Regions from separate parts of the Homo sapiens genome. Here region 2 is linked to region 1. The links are contacts of gene promoters, found by promoter capture Hi-C in blood cells and fetal thymus (Javierre and others, 2016). All regions are on one chromosome and are shown on one strand. Each heading gives the region's core, a stretch centred on a gene start or on the middle of the fragment in contact. The rest is flanking DNA. Distances are from core to core; before and after follow the strand shown.

The links. The method cuts DNA at HindIII sites, captures the fragments that hold promoters and counts their contacts. A CHiCAGO score of 5 or more calls a contact.
Region 2: a contact is called between the fragment with the promoter of OR10W1 here and the fragment with the promoter of OR5B17 in region 1, in 9 of 17 cell types (neutrophils, fetal thymus, naive CD8 T cells and 6 more). The highest score is 15.1, in neutrophils.

Annotation. Positions count from the first base shown.
Region 1 is chr11:58,356,477-58,360,973 of GRCh38, forward strand. OR5B17 (olfactory receptor family 5 subfamily B member 17) reads right to left here and starts at 2,593. Exons shown (of 1, transcript NM_001005489.2): 1 at 1,648-2,593. The coding sequence starts at 2,593. The coding sequence ends at 1,649. The HindIII fragment of the contact is 4,652 bases long and covers 1-3,132 here.
Region 2 is chr11:58,265,323-58,270,055 of GRCh38, forward strand. OR10W1 (olfactory receptor family 10 subfamily W member 1) reads right to left here and starts at 2,938. Exons shown (of 1, transcript NM_207374.3): 1 at 1,470-2,938. The coding sequence starts at 2,536. The coding sequence ends at 1,619. The HindIII fragment of the contact is 7,272 bases long and covers 1,235-4,733 here.

The sequences.
Region 1 (4,497 bases), core at 1,343-3,842:
TTTGTCCCCCTCAGCAACTCATAAATTTGATTACACTTTATTTTTCTTCATTAAAAATATTACCTAATGTACCTTGCTATTTCCATTAGCTCTTTTGTTTTCTTCAAAGAATGATATAATTTTAGCTCTTACATTTAGGTTTGTAGTCCATTATGAATTAATTTTGTGTATGATGTGAGACAGGGGTCCAACTTCATTCTTTTGTGTGTAGGCATTCAATTATCCCAAGACTATTTGTTGAAAAGGCTACATGCCCTCATTGAGTCCTTTGGGCCCTCTTACAGGGTATCAACTGACCACAAATGTAAGGGTTTATTTCCGGGTTCACAATTCTATTCCATTAGTCTATATGTCTATTCTTATGCCATTACCATACTATCTTGATTACTACAGTTTTTGTTGTAACTTTTGAAATTGTGGTGTGAGAGGACTCCAACTCTGTTCTCTTTTTAAAATATTATTCTGGGCTTTTAAATTTCCTTATGAATTTTAGGATAAGTTTACCAATTTCTGCAAATAAGCCAGCTGGGATTTGAGAGGAAGTGTATTTAATCTGAATATCAATTAGGGAATGTGGCCAGCTGTACAATGTTGGTTCATAATCAAGTAATGTTTTCCTTTATTTAGATTTTATTGAACATCTTTCAACTAGGTTTTATAGTTTTAAGAATATAAGCATTGCAGTTCTTTTTGTAATCGTTTTTACTGTGCATCTTATTTTTGATGGTTCTGTAAATGGAATTTTCTTCATTTTATTTTTAGATTACCTATTGCTAGTATATAGAAATACCACTTATTCTGGTATGTTGTTATTGTATCCCTGACACTTTACTGAATTGATTTATTAGTTCTAATAATTTTTAGGGGATTACTTATGATCTTCTGTTTTTTGAGACGGAGTCTCGCTCTGTCACCCAGGCTGGAGTCCAACGGCACGATCTCAGCTCACTGCAACCTCCGCCTCCTGGGTTCAAGCGATTCTCCTGCCTCAGCCTCCCAAGTAGCTGGAACTACAGGCATCCACCACCATGTCTGGCTAATTTTTTTGTATTTTTCGTTGAGACAGGGTTTCATCACGTTGTCTCGCCTGGTTTTGAACTCCTGACCTCAAGTGATCCACCTGCCTTGGCCTCTCAAAGTGCTGGGATTACAGGCATGAGCCACTGGGCCAGGTCATGATTTTATATTTTAAATAGCAAACAGAGATTCTTTTATTTCTTTCTCTCAGTTCAAGATGTCTTTGATAGTCATAGGCTAAGTTTAAAAAAAAAAGAATTATCTCTGCCTTTTAATTCTAATATATTATTATTCTAATATAGTTATTTACCATTTATAAATTGTCATATGAACAAGCTGTACCAAATACCTAAAATTATTAATGCCTGAAATATTAGTTTATTAAGAAACAGTAATGACTCATAGTTGGCTAAAATATGACAAGAGACAACACATATTTCATTAAACTCCATGAGAAATTGTCATCGTATTTTTCTAACTCGTGGATACTTAGAACTGTTTCTCAACTAAAGACAAAAATAATATTAGATGAAATTTTACATTCTATATACCATATAGCATTTTAACATTTGAGTTATTGTATAAAGTAGATCTAAGTGAGATAAAATAACATTGTGATGATTTTGCATCATTAAAAGACTGAATCTAGAGAATATTTTGCCTTCTCAACAACCTTCATGAATGCATTCTTCACGTCTTTGTTCCTCAGGGTATAGACTATAGGACTGAGCATGGGGATGATCATAGTGTAGAACACAGATGCAATTTTGTCTGTGTCCATGGAATGACTGGAACTTGGTCGTATGTACATGATGATGACAGTTATATAAAATAAGAAAATGGCAATGAGGTGAGAACCACAGGTAGATAAAGGCTTCTGGTATCCCTTACCTGTGTGCCTCTTAAGAATGGTGATCAATATGAACAGATAGGAAATCAAGGTAACAAGAAGTGCAAAAAAGACATTAAAACTTGATATAAGAACAAGAATCAACTCACTAATGTGTTTCTCAGAGCAGGTCAGAGTAATGACTGCTGGTTTGTCACAGAAAAAGTGATGAATCACATTGGACATGCAGAAAGAGAGGCGAAATGTATCTCCAATTTGGATAGAAGCATTCAGAAAACCAATGACATAACAGCCTATAGCCAGACAAGCACACACACGTGTTGTCATGGTGGTGGTATAATGTAGGGGGTTACACACTGCTGCGTAGCGGTCATAGGCCATTGAGGACAAGAGGTAATTTTCCACAGTGGCAAAGACTGCACAAAAGAACATCTGAGCAGCACAGGCACTGTAGGAGATGGCTTTGTCTTCTATAAGCAACCCAGTTAAAACCTTTGGAGTGACAGCTGAGGAGTAACCAATGCCTGCAAGAGACAGGTTACTGAGAAAAAAGTACATGGGAGTGTGGAGATGAGAGTCCAGCAGGATTAATATGATCATCCCCAGGTTCCCAGTCAGAGTGATGAGGTAGATGAGGGTAAACATGATAAAGAGGGGAACCTGTAGTTCTGGGGCATTGGTTAGACCAAGCAGGATGAATTCACTCACCTCTGTATTATTCTCCATGGATGTTATTTTAGAATCACAAGATACTCTGTAGCAAGGAGAGATAAAAAAGAAAAACCCTGTGATGAACAAAACAGAGTTGCACAAAACTGAAATGTATGTGTTATTTTATTATAGCAATGATTTGTTTTCTATATTTCCTAGATCAAAATTATGGATATGAAAACACAATTTAGTGGATAACTTATCTATACAGTAATAGACTTTTGAAGAAAAAGGGTCTTCGTGGATCATCTTTCCAGCTTCTTAATTTTGTGTCTGAGTAAATGGAGTCATAGGAAGGGAATAATGAGTTGTCCAATGTCACATGCCTGAAGTGAATCTATCTCCCAAATAATATGTTTTTTGAATCTAACATCTTAAACACACTTATAGTTGTCTCATGCCAGATGCTTTATATGTACATCCTCATAGAATTCTCTCATTAATCCTATTATTTAATTAGTTATTATTGCCAATTTATACATGAAGTATCTTGGTAGAAAAAAAGAGTTTGAATAATTTATTCAAGATTACACAAGCACCAGTAGATAGAACCAAGCTTTAGACACAATCAGGGTGGTTCCCAACCTAAATTAAAAGAATTAAAATTCTTTTAATGAATTTGAATTATTTTAAATGTTAATCTATTTATATGTACTCATTCTATCTATTATACCAAGCATAACATATGAAGTTGCATAGTAGAGCAATGCACAAATAAATGCATACTAGATGAAGTGGAATAAATGCAGCATTAATGTCATGTGCAACCAACAAAGCCAATTCTGCAGAGAAGATATAGCATTGGGTATAAAATCTAGGACTCTAAGAAGAGGTAGATTTGTATTAACTCATAAGCCCTAACATTTACTACTTGGGAGACACTGGTCTTAATCTAACTTCCTTGAATCTCATTTTATCCATTAGTCAAATGAAGATGATATTAGGACTTATGTCAAGAGATTATTTTGAGAGTTAAATGAGATAATGCTCAGCTGTTGGCAAAATGTGGGCACTCAGCACAGTCCTGATGAGTGCTAGCTATAATATTATTATTAGGATGGAATGGTGGTGCATATGTTGGTGTAGAACACATAGAGGTGACACACAGGGCTGAAGGTGTGGGTGGGTTTTCAAGTTGGCAGTTTTACTCTGTCTGATCTGTATTTTCTTACACACTATGTCCAGTCTTTTGTTTCCTTCAGCATTTCTCACTCTATCCATTCTTTGCCAGGTGAATGACTGTGTCAGCCATCTAGCATGAGAACCCAGGGATCTTCAAGTCCTGTTGTGTTTAATTTCTCCCTTTCAAACTACATTTTACCTTGTGTTGAAACAATCCCCTTTTATCTTAGACACATTCTTCCTGTCATTACTCTCAACACTTAGCAGGATATCAGATATTGAGGGTTGGAGGTTCGTAGTCTTGGGGGCTGACTGTAGGCTGCAGATGTGTTTATGCACAATCTTTTTATTTGAATTTGAATCTGTCAGAAGGACATTCATTTCCTCATAACCACTATTGATTGTCTATCATTTTTCTCCTGCCCCCAGTACACATCAGTTGACACTTCTAGAATTCAAATTATTTGTTTGCCAAAAAACTACCCACATAATAATATAAGCTACAATTTTTATTGTTTTTCTTTAAAAATTTACTATGTTCTATGACAACTGAAAGGTTCTCACTGTACCTACCTGGATAATCTAGGATAATCCTACCATCTCAACATGTTAATTTAATCACTGTGAAGTTTGTAAAAAAATCACATAAGGCCACATGTTTATGGGTTTCAGAAGTTAAGATATGACCACCTTTGGGGAACATTATTAAGGCTGCCATAATGAGTATGAATATTATATATCATAGGTAAATTATCTCTAGAATCAGAAATGGTTGAGACATCTTCACAGATCACATA
Region 2 (4,733 bases), core at 1,688-4,187, 91 kb before region 1:
AGCTGTGGATAGTACTGAACTCTATACATAGTAACAGATGGGTAGTGTATTCAATGTGGATATGCTGAACAAAGGGAGGGACGATTCATTTCCCAGGTGGGATAGAGCAGGATGGCTTGGAATTTCAACACTTTACTCCGGACAGGACACAATTTAAAACTTACAAATTGCTCATTTCTGGAATTTTCTATTTAATATTTTTATATTGCATTGACCGCGGGTAACTGCAACTGTGGAAAGTAAACCTGCAGGTAAGTGGAACCTACTATATTGGTTTCACTGTCAGGGTCTGTTTTCTGAGAACTCTCCCATTTATATAAAAAACAGAGATAATAGTCTTAATGAGCTTTTTGAAGATTGATAGAATATGTATTTCTGGCACACAGGAAGCACTTAATATTATCTATTACTAATAACTAGTATTTGAAAATATAAATTTGAGGCTGAATAATATCTTTTTACATAGTAATTGTTTAACCAATACTTTATTATAGGAGAAGTGGATTAATTTCTTTCTTTTCTTTTCTTTTCTTTTCTTTTCTTTTTTTTTTTGAGACCGAGGGAGTCTCGCTCTGTCCCCTAGGCTGGAGTGCAATGACGCAATCTCAGCTCACGGCAACCTCCGCCTCCTGGATTCAAGCGGTTCTCCTGCCTCAGCCCCTCAAGTAGCTGGGATTACAGGCACACGCCACCATGCCAGGCTAATTTTTGTACTTTTAGTAGAGATGGGGTTTCACCATGTTGGCCAGGCTGGTCTCAAACTCTTAACTTCATGATCTGCCCACCTCAGCCTCCCAAAGTCCTGGGATTATAGGCATGAGCCACCGCAACTGGCCTATTTTCATTTTTATGTATGATGCTATAATAAACAACAAATTTGTTCTGATTGTTCTCTGTTTGACCCTGGTTCTCTAGGTTTTTGTCTGCCTTTCCCTGTGCCCTAGGAGACTGACTTCTGTGGACTGATTCACCCAGTCTCCCCTCCCTTCTTGCTGCCAGTTGAGTTTGGTCCATGGAGACAGGGCAAGAAATGGAAGATTTTGAGCAAAGAGACGCTGGGGTATTTGCCTCCCTGTCTCTTCCTTGCATGGCCATAGTTCTGTCATAGTTTCTTTTTATTTCTGATGCCACAGTTTCTACCAAGTGGTTTATCTGCTTAGATCTAACTGTCACTGGACTCTGATAATGTTGCACCCTTCTTCTATGGCACACCTTTTAAGTCTAGGGCTGAGAAAGCTTCCTGCTATTGCTAGCGTGTTAGTGCTCTGCCACATTTTATTGGTTTCCTTACCTATAACCACTGCAGATAACCCTTTTTAAATATTTTTTTAGTTAAAAATCTATTGAGTGAGCTATCTCTTCTCAGCTGGTAACTGGACAAAGTATTATACTTGCCACTTTATATCACTTTATGCTCATGTAGTTCTTTCCAAGAAGAGAAATTACAGAGTCAAATTGTAGAAATATTTAAAAATCTTTGGCACACATAAACAGTATCCATATAATTTATACCATCTTTTAGATGAGTTTTAACACCAAATGATAGAAATCTCAGTTTCATACAGATTTGGTGGGCTGGAACCAAATACTTGCCTGATAGGCTGTCCCCTCGTCTTTCCTAGCTGTTCTGGGAAAGGCAGTTCCTGGTAAGAACTCTCCCTACGGCCCCTTTCATCTCACTGTTCCTCAGGGCATAGATAAGTGGGTTGAGCAGTGGGGTTCCCAATGTGTACACCAGTGAGATGAACCGATCTTGCTTGGGGTTGTAGCTGGAGCTGGGGCACAGGTACATGAAGGCACAGCAGCCATACTGCAGCAGCACCACAGTGAGGTGGGAAGAGCAGGTGGAGAAGGCCCGGTGGCGGCCAGCAGCCGAGTGGATCTTGAGCAGAGCAGCCACTATGAAGGTGTAGGAGGTGGTGATGAGGAAGAAAGGCACAGCAATGGCTAGTATGGCTGCCACCAGCACTGACTGCTCATGAATGTGACTCTGAGCACAAACAACATGCATGACTGGTGGCACATCACAAAAGAAGTGCTCAATGCCCTGAGCCTGGCAGAATGGCAGAGAGAAGATGAAGGCCACCAGTTGTAAGGACAGGAACAGACCACTGATGACTGATGCCACAACCAAGTGGACACAAAGAGTCAATGTCATGAGGAGAGGGTACTGCAACGGGTGGCAAATGGCCACATAGCGGTCATAGGCCATGGCAGCCAAGAGGAAGCAATCAGCACTGCCCAGTGCAATGAAGAAAGCCATCTGGGTGGCACAGCCCAGGAGAGTGATGGTCTTCTCTGACTGTAGGGTGTTGGCCAGGATATGGGGCACCACCACTGCAGTGTAGCATATTTCAATCCCAGAAAGGCTGCCCAGGAAATAGTACATGGATGTGCATAGACAGGTTTCTGTGTGAATGGACACCACAATGAGAATGTTCCCAGTGATGATCAAACCATAAACCAGGCTGACCCCAAGGAAGGACAGAATATGCAGTTCTGGGCAGGAGGGATAGGCCAGGAACACAAATTCCATCAACACTGAGTGATTTTCCCAGGTAATTGAGCTAACAGTATTTCTCTGTGGAGAGCTACAAGTACAGAAGGAAGAATCAGACTGAAGATAAATTAAGTTACACTCTGAGCCATGAATCTAATGTAATCAGCACTGGAGTTAGAAACTGGAAGGATCAAGACTAGTTCTTTTTCTTTTCTCCACTTTTACCAAGTTTCTCCACATTAATATCTACACCTCAATTTCTACCTGCCAAGAGTTGGGCCAAACTATGTAAGATACTATTGAAGAAAAATGGCAGAGGAAGTGGGTGGGATTCAGGAGCTATTTTCAGAAAGAGTGGAATGAAAATTCAATTCTTTCAGCAAATTCACAAGAAAGTGTCAAGGAATTCTTGGGGCTAGAAATCATTAAGGTAAGGGAGATAAGCCATTTATTCATTCACTTATTCATTCACATATTTATTAGGTTGGTGCAAAAGTAGTTGCGGTTTTGCCATTTTGATGGCAAAAACTGCAATTACTTTTGCACCAACCTAATATTTACACTCAATATCTCCTGGGGTATTGAATAAGTGATATGTCAATGTAACTCTCAAAACTAGTGATGGGAAGTGAAGAAAGAAAAAAAATTACCCATGAAGCAAAGGGCTAACAGAGGCCTGAGTATGACAGTGTCAGGGATACGCCTCAGAAAGCAAAGCCCTGTCTACTATTGGTTTTTCTATCCTTATCTGACCAGAAGTATAAGGCTTGAAGGAAACAAGGTGTTTTATCATATGTTTCCTCCTGGCGTGGGTGGAGGTATGAGAAAATATGTGATCCCAAGATGTTGGAAATCTAAGAAGCCTTCCTGTGAATTTGGGCATGATTATGAAAGTCTAAGCCCATCTATTTTTCATATTTCTCAGAAGCTAATGTGAAATCTGGGAGAAGCCATATCTTTTCCACAAAAACCTTTTAATAAACAGACGTAATTTGCAAAGGGCATCCATTCCACTTCTTTTCCCAGACCAACTCATATTAAATAAGGTGGAAAAGACGTAATGTGTGGCCTTGTTTCAACGTGCCAAATTTTAATATTTCCTGTCATTGAATATGAGATTTGAAGAGAAATCTCTACCCAGAGGCACCACTTCCAGTAAAAATTATTCACACAAACCCACCTCAGTGTCACAAGCATGGGGAAAAATATGAGTAGGCAGCTACAAATATTAAGAGCACCTAGGGCAGAAATGGCTCTCTGCTGTTTTTCCAACAGCTAACAAGTGGTATCTATTTCAGTTGGTCTCTTTTCCTGAGCTGAACTTCAATAATGCTTTGAGTGGTTTCTAATGCCACTTAGCATATTGCACATTATACTATATCATGTGGAGGAGGGGCAGTGTATCAATGTGAAATCAGCAGTGAAGGGAAGTGATGTGGTTTGAATAATTCCAGCTCCTGGCTTCATGATGTTAGGTAATATATAATTTCTCTAAGCCTCAATTTCTGTATTTGAAAAATGGGAATAATAATTATACTTAGACAAAAGAATTGCTGTAAGTTTAAATGCAATAGTAATGTAAGATATCACAATGAACTGTCCATAGTAATGGCAACCTAATAAAAGATAATCATCATTATTATTTATAAATTCAAGGGCAGCCATTCTGCTTTATTTACATTTTGATCATCCCATATAAGCACGCCTAATGTTGTGCAAATTTTAGACACTCAATAATTATATGTCGAATGGATAATACAGCTTGAAAATGTTATTTATACATTTTCTTCATTTTCTACTTTCACTTTGCCGTGCAATGAAAGATTTAAGATTATTCATAATCAAATCACTTGTTTAGGAGTCCTTATATAAAACAACTTCGTATCTAAGATTTGGGCTGCACTGTGGAAATAATTCTATCATTCAAGAACATAGCATATGGAAGTCTACAACAGGCACACATCTAAAGGCTAGTCTACCATCTATATTATTATACAGAGACAGTTTGAAATCTGTGTCACAATGACAACTTCTGAGAATTTTATTGTAGTCTATTACATTCATATCATCTTTTCAAAAAGTTATATTTTGTTTTTAATTGACAATAATAATTGTACAATGTGATGCTTTGATACATATACACATTGTGGAATGATCAAATCAGGCTAATCAGCATATCCGTCATGTCATATAGTTATCATCTGAATACTGCTCTCTATAATATTTGTAATCT